Regions from separate parts of the Homo sapiens genome. Here region 1 is linked to region 2. The links are contacts of gene promoters, found by promoter capture Hi-C in blood cells and fetal thymus (Javierre and others, 2016). All regions are on one chromosome and are shown on one strand. The core of a region is centred on a gene start or on the middle of the fragment in contact, and the rest is flanking DNA. Distances in the headings are between cores, read along the strand shown.

Region 1 (7,274 bases), core at 3,398-5,897, 300 kb after region 2:
CCTTTTGGTGGGGTCTTCTCTAACCTCCTTAATTAAAACTACACCCTTCTTCTATACCCTCCTTTTGATTTTTCTCCATGACATTTATCACAATCAAACATACTAAATGCTTACTATATTTTGTTTATTATTTGTCTCTTCTGACTTGAATGTAAGTTATAAGTTATCTGAGAGTAGAGATTATTGTCTCACACATAGCAAGTGCTCAGTAAATATTTGTCAAGTGAATGAATGAACAGAAATCAATGGCTCTGGTGTATCTGTATTGACTTTTCCCGTGAGTACAATTGCACTTAGCACATCAAGCTGGGTGCCAATGAATAGAAGGACAAAAGAAACACCTTACACCATCATGTTCAGTTGTTCCTTCGGTTGAGGGATGCTGAGGCCCAGCAAGAGGGAGGATATCCCAAAGCATCACAGCACGTTGCCTTTAGAGCTGGGACTGAGACCTAATCCCCAAGTTTCCCAGACAGGGCCTGTCCTCTGGTCCCCCTCCCGCCCACGACCACAGAAAGGTCACTGCTTTCTGGCAACAATTTTCAGTCTCCTGAGCTATAAATTTAGAATAAGGAACCTACAGAAAATAAGTAAATTAGGTATGAGGAGGCGGTATTTTTAGCTTTGCTGGTTTCCAAGTGCATGCATCTATACAAAGCTCGGTAAGTATGGCTATATATAGGCATACTTATCAGAAAGCCAGTTGAGTGAGTGGTGGGTCAGCTTTTCTGGGGGTGGCTGAGTGAGCCTGTTGCAACACAGATGGTTTTGAGCCAGAGTGGCTAATTCCAAGGAACTGGCGCTGCTTGAGTCATCTGGAAGCTCCACACCTCGCTTCAGGAGTTCAGAAAGAGTGGGAGGAGTTAGATCCTCTTTTTCCTTCTCAATCAGCCAGAAGCACCAATGAAACCCCAAGGTCCACCCAGCTAGTAACTGAAAAAAGCTTTTATGGTCAAAATCTCCCTAGTGCTCAATTGTTCTCTCCTTGGGGGCAGATGGGGATTCTGAAGCGGGGGCCTGAGCAGAAACCTGGAGCTTCTGCATCCCTGATGGACCCGACAAGCCTCTCTGGGCTTTGGTTCTTTTGGCTACCAGGACATTTCTCAGATTTCAGACCAAGCCTGGGTGAGCATGGAGCACTACCTTCAGCCAGGCACTCTGTCCGCATATGTAAACTCGTTTTGTACAACTCGACTACGGAGATACTTTTATTACTTTTATTATTGTCCCCATTTTACAGTTGGAGAAAGCAAAGCAAGGAGTAGATAAGTAACATGCCCACATCTCACAGCACAAGCGCAGACCCAAGCAGTCTAGCTCCACAGCGGCTGCCTGGAACTATCAGCTTATGCTAATAGTTCCCCCTGACTGCAGGGCACGCAACCTGAGTCAAAGTCCAAACTATATGCAGCCTTCATTCCTTCAGCAAGTATTTACTGAGCATTTACTATATGTAGGGCATTTCTGAAGCTCTGAAGTTCATGGCTGGATCCAGGGTTGGATGCTGCAAACCTTTGGCTGGACACTGAGCTAAGTAATGCATGTGGAACAATCCCATTGGCTGCTTGTGGAAACTGAGTGAGGGCAGGGCTAGTTCCTCTCATTTGGGGCAGCCTGAGAGAGGTATCCTGACCCATGCAGTAGAAATAGAGGCTAGATCCCCCTGTGCAGAGCAAAAGCACCAAGCACTGAGGTTGGAGGAGACTTCTGTCCTCATGTAGCTTATGTTGGATATAGTGTGGGGACACAGGAAATGAACACAAACAAGTAAACAATATACTTCAAAATGGTTATAAAGGCTGTAAATTAAATGTAACATGGAAATGAGACTGTTATGGGTTGAACTATGTTTCCACAAAAAAACTAGGGGTTCTGCATGAATCCCTAGTACACTTATTTGGAGATAGGTTTTGTTGTTGTTGTTGTTGTTGTTGTTGTTGTTGAGACAAAGTCTCGCTCTGTCGCCCAGGCTGGAGTGCAGTGGCATGAAAAGATAGGGTTTTTACAGAGGTAATCTAATTAAAATGAAGTCAGTAGGGTGGGCCCTAATCCAATATGACTGGTGTCCTTATAAAACAGAAATTTGGAGACAGACATGTACACAAGAAGAATGCATGTGAAGATAAAGGTGGAGACTGAAGCGATGTTTCTACAAGCCAAGGAACACCAGAGATCGCCAGCAAACCATCAGGAGCCAGGAGAGAGGGCTGGGGCAGATTCTCCCCCACAGCTCCCAGAGGGAACCAACCCTGACCTTGGACTTGTAGTCTCCAGAATTGTGACACAGTTCAGTTCTGTTGCTTTTAAGTAACTCAGTTAGTGGCACTTTGTTACAGCAGCCACTGCAAACTAATATAGGGACAAAGAGTGTTAGGGGAAGAGCAGGATTTTGGCTACCAGATCGGGTAAGGTCTATCTGAGGAGGTGACACTGGGGCTGAGACCTGAATATTGGGAAGGAGATGGTTGTGGGAAAAGCCGGGGAAAATCCACATCCTAGAGATGGAAACAAACCTGCCATATCTGCAGCAAAGCTGAAAGGTGTGTGTCTGGAGCCAGGTGAGGGAGGGTGGACAGGTTCAAGCTGAGGGCAGAAGGAAGGCAGGGCCCCAGAGCAGGTAGGGACTTTCATAGTACATGCTGGGAAACCAATGCGGGGAATGGTTTTAGGCAAAGAGTGATGTGAGACCCTACTTTCCCCTTGAAAAGATCCCTCTGGCTGCCCCAAGTGGACTTGAAGGTGAGGCAGGGGAAAGTCGGCTAGGAAGGTGAGGCTCAGGTTCAGCTGCAAAGTGATGGAGGCTCAGATGAGGGGTCTGGCGGAGGAGCAGGGAAGTGATCTGGTTGGTGATAAACTCTGGAGGCAGAACTCCAACAGGACTTGCTGGTGGACCCACCGTGGGATGAGACAAAAAGAGAGTCAACTGTGACCCTTACGATTTTGTCTGAGCAACAGAGTGGACAGCGCTGCTTTTTACTGTGGGATAATGAAGGGGTAGAGTGGAGAGTTGTTCTGAAGAGGGACAGCCAGCCTCCATCCAAACGTGACTTCTAAAATGAGGCCAAACTGAAGATTGAAGAAACAGAGTCCCTGTCCTGGAACTCAAAGCCTGAGGGACACAGATGTGTAAACAATAGCAATGCAACGTGTGAAGTAGCTGGTGACACAGCTGTGGGAGTGATTCTGGGGAAGTTGGACAGAAGAGGTTTTTGTTTTGTTTTGTCAAAAACCATTTCTAAGTTACATAAGTGCTGCAAAAATAGTACAAAAAATTCCCGATACCCTTCACCCACTTTCCCCAAATGTTAACATCTTACATGTTTACAGTGCATCATCAAAACCAGGAAATTGACATAACTACAAACCTGATTCAAATTTTGTCAATTGCCCCACAAATGTCCTTATCTGACCAGGAGCCGATCCAGGATCACATAGAGCATTTGTTGCCAAGCTTCCTTGTTTCCTCTAGTCTGGGATAGTTCCTCAGCTTACACTTACACTTTCATGACCTTCAAACATTTGAAGAATACTAGACACTTATTTTGTAGGATGTCCTTCAATTTGGGTTTAGCTGGTATTTCCTCAGGTTGTGAATTATTTATTTATTATTTATGTTTTTCTTTACTTATTTATTTACTTATTTATTTTGAGACAGGGTCTCACTCTGTCACCCCGGCTGCAGTGCAGTGGCACGATCTTGGCTCACTGCAACGTCCGCCTCCCAGGTTCAGGTGATCCTCCCACTTCAGCCTCCTGAGCAGCTGGGACTACAGGCACACTCCACAGCACGCTACGGCTAATTTTTAAATTATTTATAGAGACAAGGTCTCCCTATGTTGCCCAGGCTGATCTCAAACTTCTGGACTCAAACGATCCTCCTGCCTCAGCCTCCCAAAGTGCTGATATTACAGGCATGAGCCACCACGCTCAGCCAAATTTTTTAAGAGCACCACATAAGTTTATGTTGTGCCTTTCTTGGTACATTATATCAGATGGTACATGAGGTTGATATGTTCTATTATTTATTATGTTAACTCTGATCACCTGGTTAAGGTGGAGTCTGCCACATTTTTCCTACTATAAAGTGACTACTTTTCTCTTTGCAATTACTAACCATCTTATGGGAAGGCGCTTTGAGATAATGTAAGCATCTTGTTTCTCTACATTTTCGCTCATGAGTGTTTGTTTCCATTGATGATTCTTGCTTAACACAACTATAATGGTAAGTGTTTGCCAAGTGTTTTCTATTTCCATCATGCCTTCTAATTCCTACTAATTATAATGCTGCTTTAAGGAAGAACTCTCCCTTCTTGCCTGTTTATTTGCTTATTCGAATATTTACCTCTATTGGTATAGACTCATTACTTCTTGTTTTATCCTTAAATGCTGTAAGTTATAATCTATTGTGATCATTATTTATTTTGTGGCTCCAACTATCTCATTTTCGGCCATCAGCAGCCCCTTCAAGTTAGCTCGTGGGTTCAAGAGGAAAGTTTTGAGCAGGGTCATGAACAAGGCATGGGGGCTTGATAGAGAAGAGGGAGAGGAAAGGCTTCCAGGCCTGAGGGAGCCTTGAGGACATAGCTAGCACCCTCTGAGGATGTTGGCTGTCCTCTGAGCTGGCTGGTCCTCACTATGAGGGCCAGGAGGATGCAGCCACACACCTTGCTCAGATGGACAGACCTCCACAGAACGCCATGTCCGTGTGGGCTTCGCCGCCAGCAGGACTTCCTCAAGGATCTTCTGGAGCTGCAGCCATGAATTCCCAGCACTCAGGGTGTTAGTGCATCCACCTGGGTTTGCTCATGAGAAGCCCTCCACCATGTCCATGAACCCCTCCCGCCACCTCCTGCCTGCCATTGCTTTGCCAGACTGGATATCATCCAGGGCTGTGGTGTCCCCACTGCTCTGCCTGTGTCTGAAGGGTGTTTCCTGGACTTCTCTGCCTGAAGAACTTGTACCAGGGGAGGCTCTCAGAGCTATGGAGTGGCAGAACCATGTGTCCTACAGATTATTTAGCACACCGGCTATTGTTTTGACTTGTATGTTGTCATTTTCTCAATCCAGGGCCTCTGTGAAGTCTTGAGTGGATGCCCAATAGGCTAAACAGAAGGGAGTGGGTGGAAGGGGTAGAGGAATGGCAGTTGCAGGACCATCATTCTGGTCAAGGCCCCAGTTGGCAGGGATAGAGCTGGGCCCTGAAGGGAAAATGGCCAATCTAAGGTCACAGGGACAGTTGGTGGCTAAGCAGAACTAAAATCCAGTGTCCATGTCCTTCTCACCATTCCACATTCCCAATCCACTCTGCTTCTTGTTTATCAGCTACTGATGAGGCCACAGTCCGGGTGTACGTGTCCATTTCTCTTGTTTCCCCTGCAGGCAGAGAGATGGAGGCCAATCTTCTGGCCCCTTTCTGGGCCAGGGCCTCTAGGCACATGGGCAGCACTGACCACTTGCCCACAGGGAAGGGGAATGTCCTGGGTCACGTAGCAAGCACAAGGCTGAGGGCAAGTCTGGGATCACCTTGCAGCCTCTCCACTGTAGGCCCATGACCTCACCCAGACCAGCACTAAGTTAGCCACCCCTTCTTCCATCTCTTCTTCCTCTTCCTTCAGTCCCAGAGGGGAAATGGGGCCCTTTTTCTTTTTTTCTTTTTAAATTTCAAATTAAGGGCTGGATGCTGTGGCTCACAGCTATAATCCCAGGAATTTGGGAGACTGAGGCAGAAGGATCGCTTGAGGCCAGGAGTTTGAGAGCAGCCTGGGCAACATAGCAAGAACCCATCTCTATTTTTTTAATTAAAAAAATTAAAAATAAATAAATAGATTTCAAAGTAAGCTTACAGTAGGTTAAACATTCACGATTCAAAATTCAAAACATACAAAAGTTATGCTGTAAGAAGTCTCCTTTTTGACCCTATCCTGTGGACACTCACTTTCCAGCTGTGGTTAGTTTCTCCTGCAGCTTTCCAGAGATGTCTGCATAAGGCCTTACAAATGGTTTCTGTAAAGAGCCAGGTAGAAAATACGTTCAGCTTTGAGAGCCATAGGCCTCCTCTCACAACTTTTCAATACTGCATGGTAGTACAAAAGCAGCCACAGATGATACCTAAACTAATGAATGTGGCTGTGTTCCTGTGAAATTTTTTTATGGACACTGAAATTTGAATTTCATGTAATTTTCATATATCACAAAATATTATTCTTGGCCAGGTGCAGTGGCTCACGCCTGTAATGCTAGCACTTTGGGAGGCCAAGGCAGGTGGATCACCTGAGGTCAGGAATTCCAGACCAGCCTGGCCAACATGGTGAAACCCCATCTGTACTAAAAATACAAAAATTAGCTGGGTGTGGTGGCACACACCTGTATTCGCAGCTACTTGGGGAGACTGAGACATGAGAATCCCTTGAACCCGGGAGGCAGAGGTTGCAGGGAGCCGATAGCCACTGCAATGTCCAGTCTGGGTGACAGAGTGACACTCCGTCTCAAAAATATATGTATAAATAAATAAATATTATTCTTAATTTTCCCTTAAACATTTAAAAATGTAAAAACCATGCTTAGCTCAAGAACTGTACAAAAATATAATATTTCAATGTATGGATGAACCATAATGTATTTAAACAATGTCCCATTGATGGACATTTAGGCTGGTTCTAGTTTTTTGCTATTGCATCTAATACTGCAGTGAATAAACTCACCCACACATAATGTTATGTGCAGGTAATGTATCTATAGGATAAACTGTGGGACATTTGATCAAATCTGAACAGCCTTCCAGCCTCCTCCATCTCCTTTCTCATCTTGCTCCCTTGGTACCTGCCAGTTAACATCAAATGTACTGAGAGCCTCACAAGTTCTAGCCACCTTGCCAGGTGCTGAACACCAGCCAATAGCCCAGCAGGACTGGTTTCTTCTTTCCTCATGTCACATAATCCCTGGAGTCTGGTGGACCAGAGCTTGCGTTGCAGCTCCTCGCCACACCTCAGTTTCCCAGGCTCCTTCTACCCTTTTGCTCTGCCATACTTAGGATGTGATGTGACTTCCATCTTCAAGGTTGCCATATGGTCGTGACATGGCCACTGTGGCTCCAGACATCATATTCTCATCCCATAGAATAAAAGAGAAAAGAGGGTAAGAGGCAGCAGAGCACACATCCGTGGAGTCAGCCTCCTTTAAAGGGCTTTCTCGGAAGTCATCCCCAGATGCTTCCATTTTCATCTCATTGGCCTTACCTGTGACCCATGAGCCCCTGAATGCCAGGAAGCCTGGGA
Region 2 (7,604 bases), core at 4,646-7,145:
AAGCAACATGACTACAGTACCAAAAAAATGTGAAAAAAGTTACAGATAATTCTAACAGATCATCACAATTACTATCATTTCTGTGTTTTCTCTGCAGTCTTTTCCTTATGAATATATGCTTATGTAGATGTCACTCATAGTGAATATGCTATTTGGTATCCTGCTTTTCTCCCTATATTATACAGTAAGTATTTTCCATGTGCTATAATACTTTATAATCCTCATTTTCTATAAATGCATTATATTTAACACTCTACAACTTAACTAATGATTCCTTTGTTTCTGAACCTCTAGGCTGTTTCTACTTTTTCTCTATTACGAATAATGTTGCAACAAACATCTTTGTTAAAGAAGGTAATGTTTCCTTCTTTTGGATTATTTCCTGAGAATATAAATTAGAAAGAGGAGGATTACTGAGTCAAATAATTCTTTCGTTTGTTTGTTTTTAATGGTTCCTGTTTTGTATGACTGTTACCTTTAGTGTGACACTTCTTTGGTCTTCTGGTGGAAGTCCTTGAACTGGATGAACACCCAAGCATGGCAGGACAAACCCATTATACCTAAAAATGTAGAACCAACTGAGAAAGCAGGAACAGTAGACTAGTAGATTACAACGTATTCTAAAGAATAAGTAGAGGTCGGGCATGGTGGCTTATGTCTGTAATTCCAGCACTTTGGGAGGCTGAACCAGGTGGATCACTTAAGGCCAGGAGTTTGAGACCAGCCTGGCCAACATGGTGAAATCCTGTATCTACAAAAAATATAAAAATTAGCCAGGCCTGGTGGTGCATGCTTTAGACCCAGCTACTTGGGAGGCTGAGGCAGAGAATTGCTTGAAACCAGGAGGCAGAGGTTGCAGTGAGCCAACATTGCGCCACTGCACTCCAGCTTGGGTGACAGAGCAAGACTCCATCTCTCAAAGAAAAAAAAAAGGAATAAGTAGAAAATAATCTCTTTAGGGCTATGTTAAAATGCTTTTTCCTCTTTATTCTCTTTAAAAATGGATCTTTGATATTATAAACTGGATGTCATAACTGTGTTCTTATTAGCAACCCTTTAAAATCTTAATTAAAAGTAGCACCTTTCTGAAAGTTGCATAATCTTTTCAAATTCTCCTGAATGTTCGGCAACTGCCACAAGGGCCACAACATTGGCCTGAAAAAAAAAAAAAGAATAAAGTTACAAACAATATACATTTAATATAAATTATAGAAAATTTTAAAGTTTTCTCTGCATTTTAGTTATCCTTGTTCAGCCATGCTTCATCAATACAATCAGAAGGGCTATCATTGAGTATTTACTATGTTTCAGACCTTATGTTCAGTGAATATAAATATTGCCTCATTTAATTTACAGAAACCTATAAAGTAGGCTATAGTCTACTGTATAGATCAGGAGACAGAGTTTTGGATGTCGAATAACTTGCCCAAGGTCATCAGGTCTATATATGTCCAAAGCCCACATTCCTAATTAAGCTGCCACAGTGAAAGTTACCTGTATGTAAAAATGCACTACAACCATTTCTGGCTGTATCATTTTTTGAGATGGCCACAAAATGCTAGTTACAATGAATTTCATAAACACTTCCAAAAAAATAATTTTTCTAAGCAAATCAAAACATCTCAGAAAACTTTAATAATATATCCCAGATCTCCAGAACCACATGAATTTAAAAACTGAAAGATGGACCAATTTGTTCCATAGGGCTGTTGAGCATGGTAGCTATAGGAACATGTTTTGAATTCAGACTAACTTGTCTCTATCAGTTCACTAGCATGTGTCTTTGGACCAGTTACTCATCTCTAGGCCTTAGATTCCTCATCTATAAAAATGGGGAATGATTGGCTATAAATTAGTAATTTCCTCAGAAGGCTATTGTGAAACATTGAATGAGGTAAAGTCGAGAAAGGCCTTAGCTCACTACCTGGCATGTAGCAAACACTTAATAAATGCTACTTAGGCTGGGAGCAGTGCCGCATGCCTATAATCCCAGCATTTTGGGAGCCCAAGGTGGGTAGATTGCTTGAGCTCAGAAGTTTGACACCAGCCTGGGCAATATAGTCAGATCTTGTCTCTATTTTAATTATAAATAATAAAAATTGGCTGGTCGTAGTGGGTCACGCCTGCAATCTCAGCACTTTGGGAGGTCGAGGTGGGCAGATCACCTCAGGTCAGGAGTTCAAGACCAGCCTGGCCAACATGGTGAAACCCTGTCTCTACTAAAAATACAAAAATTATCTGGGTGCAGTGACGTGTGCCTATAGTCCCAGCTACTCAGGAGGCTGAGGCAGGAGAATCACTTGAACCTTGGAGGCAGAGGTTGCAGTGAGCTAAGATCACACGACTGCACTCCAGCCTGGGCGACAGAGCGAGACTCTGTCTCAATAAATAAATAAATAAATAAATAAAATAATAAAAATAAAAAATGCTACTTACTATAAACTACTGAAACATCAAGGTAGTATATCTAAATTTCAAGCTGTTTTGGCTTGAAATGATAGTTAAAATAAAAAACCAAAAGAGCAATTACAAATATTGACTTACCTTCTTGGCTTTCTCCAACACATCATCCAAATCCTAAAACAAGCATAAGAAATCACCATTATTTTAGATGAATAAGCAGCTAATCTTGGACTGTATATGTCAATGTAGTTGTGGCATCACAAAAAATAACAATGATAGCAACTAATGGAGTGGTGGAAAACAAAGAGCCTACACTGACCCACTTCCTGTTTACTCTTACTATCAGTAAAGTCTGGCTACTGTTCCCAGCACTAAAACAGAAGCCTCTATTGTCAAATATACAGGGTATTTCTCTGTCCTCATCTTACTCTACTCCTCAGCAGCATTCGGAATCCCTCACTTGCTTACTCCTTCCTTCTTGAAATGCTTTCCACCCTTCACTTCTGCAATACCACTCTCTCATTGGTGGCTACTTGTCAGTCTCCTTGACTAGCTCCCCTTCCTCTTTCAGACTTCAAGAACATCTGCTCCTCTCTCTGCACTTGCCTTGAGTGATTTCACTTCCTCTCATGGTTTTATCATCATTATGCTGAGGCCCCCATTTTTTTTCTTTTTTTTGAGATGAAGTTTCACTCTTGTCTCCCAGCTGTAGTGCAATGGTGCGATCTCGGCTCATTGCCACCTCTGCCACCCGGGTTCAAGTGATTCTCCTGCTTCAGCCTCCAGAGTAGCTGGGATTACAGGTGACCGCCACCACACTCAGCTAAATTTTGTATTTTTAGTAGAGATGGTGTTTCACCATGTTGGCCAAGCTGGTCTTTAACTCCTGATCTCAGGTGACCCACCCACCTTGGCCTCCCAAAGTGCTGGGACTACAGGTGTGAGCCATCGAACCCAGCCTGAGTCCCCAATTTTTTTTTTTTTTTTTGAGATGGAGTCTCGCTCTGTCACCCAGGCTGGAGTGCAGTGTCACGATCTCGGCTCACTGCAAGCTCCGCCTCCCGGGTTCACACCATTCTCCTGCCTCAGCCTCCCAAGTAGCTGGGACTACAGGCACATGCTGCCATGCCCAGCTAATTTTTTTGTACTTTTAGTAGCGACAGGGTTTCACCATGTTAGCCAGGATGGTCTCGATCTCCTAACCTTATGATCTGCCCACCTCGGCCTCCCAAAGTGCTGAGATTACAGGCATGAGCCACTGCGCCCGGCCCCCAATTTTTATCTTTAGCTTGTAATTCTCTCCTGAGCCCATGACTCATGTTTAAAAATTATGACATCTTCATTTGGATGGGATTAGGTTTCCCAATATGCCCCAAACATAAATCTTTATTTTCTCCCCACAAACCTATTCCTTCTGCTGACCTCCCCACCTCCACCTCAGACCTTGGTCTTCCCTTATCTCAGTAAACCAGCACCACCATCTTCCCTATAGCACAAGCTAATAATCTGAGTCATCCTTGACTCCTCCCTTTCCCTTGCTATCCACATCCAATTCTTCAGTACTTACTGTGGATTCTCTCTCTAAAATGTATCTTGAATCCATGTATTCATCTCAAACTCACCTGCTATCATCATAGTACCAACAGCCAACATCTCTTGCCTATATACTGCAAAAGCCTCCTAACTAGTCTTGTAGCTTCCACTCTTCTCCTCCACCCATTTGCCATACAGCAGCAAAATGGTGTTAAAATGGATAGCATCATGCCTATCCATTTTTGTGTAATCCCAGGACTTTGGGAGGCCAAGGAGGGTTGATCACTTGAGGCCAGAAGTTCAAGACCAGCCTGGACAACATGGCAAAACTCTGTCTCTATTAAAAATACAAAAAATTAGCCAGGCGTGGTGGGACACACCTGTGATCCCAGCTACTTGGGAGGCTGAGACAGGAGAATTTTTTGAGCCCAGGAGGTGGAGGTTGCAATGACCTGAGATCATGCTATTGCATTTCAGCCTGAGGGACACAGCCAGACTCAATCTAAAAAAATAAAAAAATGAAAATAAATTTTAAAAAAGCCCTTTAATGAATCTGCATTGTGCTTCAAATGCAATCCAAATTCCTTACTGACCCACCTCATCTATCCCCTGCAAACCTCCCCAGTTTTGTTTCATGCCTTTCTCTTTCTAGCTCATCAGGCTCCACTTAGCTTTTTGGCAACTGAAATGTGCCAAATTCTAGCTTGTCTGGGGGCCTGCAACCTATCTGTTTCCCTAACCAGCATACACTCACCCCCTTGCTTGGGTGGCTCCTTGTCTTTTCAGCCTTAAGTGTCAGCTCCTGGGAGGATTTCCCCCTGAAATAAAACCCCCCTTAATCCTCTATTATTAGTCTCTAGTTTCCCACGTAATGGGTAAAACAGTTTGTAACTGATTTTACGTGTGTATTATTATTTTAATTGAGACGGGGTCTCACCACATTGCCCAGGCTGGTCTCAAACTCCTGGGCTCAAGCGATCCACCCACTTCGGCCTCTCATAGTGCTAGGATTACAAGTGTGAGCAACCACACTCGGCCATGTATTTTTGTTTGTTTGTTTGCCTCTCTCCCCCATTTGTGAATTTTTTTTTTTTTTTTTTTTTGAGACAGGGTCTCACTGTTACCCAGGCTGGAGTGCAGTGGCTTGATGTCAGCTCACTGCAACCTCCACCTCCTGGGCTCCAGCGATTCTCCCACCTCAGCCTCCCGAGTAGCTGGGACCACAGGCAAACGCCACAATCACCGGCTTTTTTTTTTTTTTTGTAGGGACGAGGTTTCACCATGTTGCCCAGGCTGGTCACGATCTCCTGGACACAGGAGATGCGCAGCGCCCGCCTCGGCCTCCCAAAGTGCTGGGATTACGGGCGTGAGCCCGCGCCCGACCTCTCCCCGATTTGAACGCGTTTCGAGGACCGCTTCCCACAAAGAGTGGCATCTCAGCCAGGAGGTGAGAGCCCCGAGGGGAAAAACAGGCCAGCCAAGGGGAGTGAGGGAACGATTCCAGGAACTCAGAAGAGCAAACAAAAGCCTTGTGGAGATAGCTTACCGCTACTGAATCAGGAAAAAAAAATCGGTATGTCTGAGGTTAAATAGGGAATAGGGAAATGAGGGGCAAGGTCATATGGCCATAAACAAGGGTCTGGGCGGGGGATATGGGGTTTCGTCCCAAGGGAGGAGAGCAAAGATAACACGAGGGGAAAGGACGGGGGCCTCCCTGCTCCCTCTGGTCCCGTATCGCCCTCACATACGCGGTCAAAGTCCGGGGCGGAGAGGTGGCAGTGACAGTCCACCAAGCCTACGCCAGCCGCTCGCATTGCGCCCCGGCGGCTGCCGCTTTAGACCGGCCAGCAGAGCCGGAGCCGGAACGTTTCAGCTGCAGCGTCCTGAGTTTCCAGCCGGATGCATGCTGGTTACACCAGTGTGAACCCGCTTTTCCGCTCCCAGAGTGCCCCGCCCACAGTTCCGACGAAAAATGGCGGGGTCTCCTGAGTTGGTGGTCCTTGACCCTCCATGGGACAAGGAGCTCGCGGCTGGCACAGAGAGCCAGGCCTTGGTCTCCGCCACTCCCCGAGAAGACTTTCGGGTGCGCTGCACCTCGAAGCGGGCTGTGACCGAAATGCTACAACTGTGCGGCCGCTTCGTGCAAAAGCTCGGGGACGCTCTGCCGGAGGAGATTCGGGAGCCCGCTCTGCGAGATGCGCAGTGGGTACGGGACCAGTTAGCCAGTTCTTTACTCATCATCCTCTTACCCAACACCCAGGATCTTAGGATTCAGAAAGATCCCACGCCAGGCCTTGGCAGAATTAACGGTGCCCCAGGCTACTGTAGAACCAGTTCGAGAAACGCTAGAGGAGAAAGAAATAGATGCTAATGTCAGCTGGGTCTTATTAATTACTTAGACCAGCGCTGTCCAGTGAAAATACAAGGCAAGCTAATCTTTATGTAGTTTTAAACTAAAAGTAAGAAATAGGTGAAGTTAATGGAAATAAGACATTTTGTTTAACCCAATAAATCCAAGGTATTTTAACATGTAATAATATCAAATGAATGAGATATTTTACATTCTTTTGTTCGTACTAAGCTTTTCAAATCTGGTGTGCTGCATTTACGGCACATCTTCGAACTAGTTACATTTAAGCGCTCAGTAACTACAAAGTGGCTAGTGGCTCACCTGTTGGACAATGCAGCCGCAGACAATGAGGAATTCTCCTGGAAAGGGTAATTCTGGAAGTCAGCCATTCACCCAAGCAGCATTTGATCTTTCCTTTTGCATGTTTTATTTATTTATTTATTTTATTTTATTTTTTTTTTTTGAGACAGAGTCTCGCTCTGTCGCCCAGGCTGGAGTGCAGTGGCGCGATCTCGGCTCACTGCAAGCTCCGCCTCCTGGGTTCACGCCATTCTCCTGCCTCAGCCTCCTGAGTAGCTGGGACTCCAGGCGCCTGCCACCACGCCCGGCTAATTTTTTTGTGTTTTTAGTAGAGACAGGGTTTCACCGTGTTAGCCAGCATGGTCTCGATCTCCTGACCTCGTGATCCGCCCGCCTTGGGCTCCCAAAGTGCTGGTATTACAGGCGTGAGCCACCTCGCCCGGCCTATTAACCTTTATTTTTACTGTTTGCACTGTGGTCATTCATAACTCACAAATGTGCGGTATTATGAGCTTTTAAATTTTTTCCGCTAATATAAGTAGATTGGTGCCTGTTATAAGGAAGCACACAATCCCTTTATTTCTTGTGTTCCCAAAAAACTACCACCTTCAGGGCTTTGCAAAAATATTTAAGAAAGGCTTGGGAAATGTGGTATAGAGGCAAATGTATGATCTTAGTAAAGTTTTCAACCAACACAATTTTTTTTAACCTATTTTAGTCTTGTAAAGAAAATGTTTTCACTCTAAAACAGGCAAAAGGGGTCGGGCGCGGTGGCTCACGCCTGTAATCCCAGCACTTTGGGAGGCCGAGGCGGGCGGATCACGAGGTCAGGAGATCGAGACCATCCTGGCTAACATGGTGAAACCCCGTCTCTACTAAAACAATAATAATAATAATACAAAAAATTAGCCGGCCATGGTGGCAGGCACCTGTAGTCCCAGCTACTCGGGAGGCTGAGGCAGGAGAATGGCGTGAACCCGGGAGGCGGAGCTTGCAGTGAGCCCAGATCTCGCCACTG

What was found. Contacts are between HindIII fragments. The CHiCAGO score rates a contact against its expected background, and 5 or more counts as called.
Region 1: a fragment that was not itself captured here is called in contact with the fragment with the promoter of NSL1 in region 2 in 1 of 17 cell types (monocytes); the score reaches 7.6 in monocytes.

The regions. Positions count from the first base shown.
Region 1 is chr1:212,491,903-212,499,176 of GRCh38, reverse strand. No RefSeq gene overlaps it. Among named protein-coding and RNA genes, the nearest start is that of LINC02771, 23 kb to the right of the region's middle. The HindIII fragment of the contact is 2,387 bases long and covers 3,454-5,840 here.
Region 2 is chr1:212,790,068-212,797,671 of GRCh38, reverse strand. It overlaps NSL1 (NSL1 component of MIS12 kinetochore complex), which reads left to right and starts at 5,895. Exons shown (of 6, transcript NM_015471.4): 1 at 5,895-6,142. The coding sequence starts at 5,909. TATDN3 (TatD DNase domain containing 3) reads right to left here and starts at 5,778. Exons shown (of 10, transcript NM_001042552.3): 1 at 5,685-5,778; 2 at 2,545-2,577; 3 at 1,082-1,155; 4 at 476-560. The coding sequence starts at 5,750. RefSeq lists enhancers at 2,717-2,766, 3,107-3,176, 3,055-3,555, 5,690-5,969, 6,444-7,222. The HindIII fragment of the contact is 10,286 bases long and covers 1-6,519 here.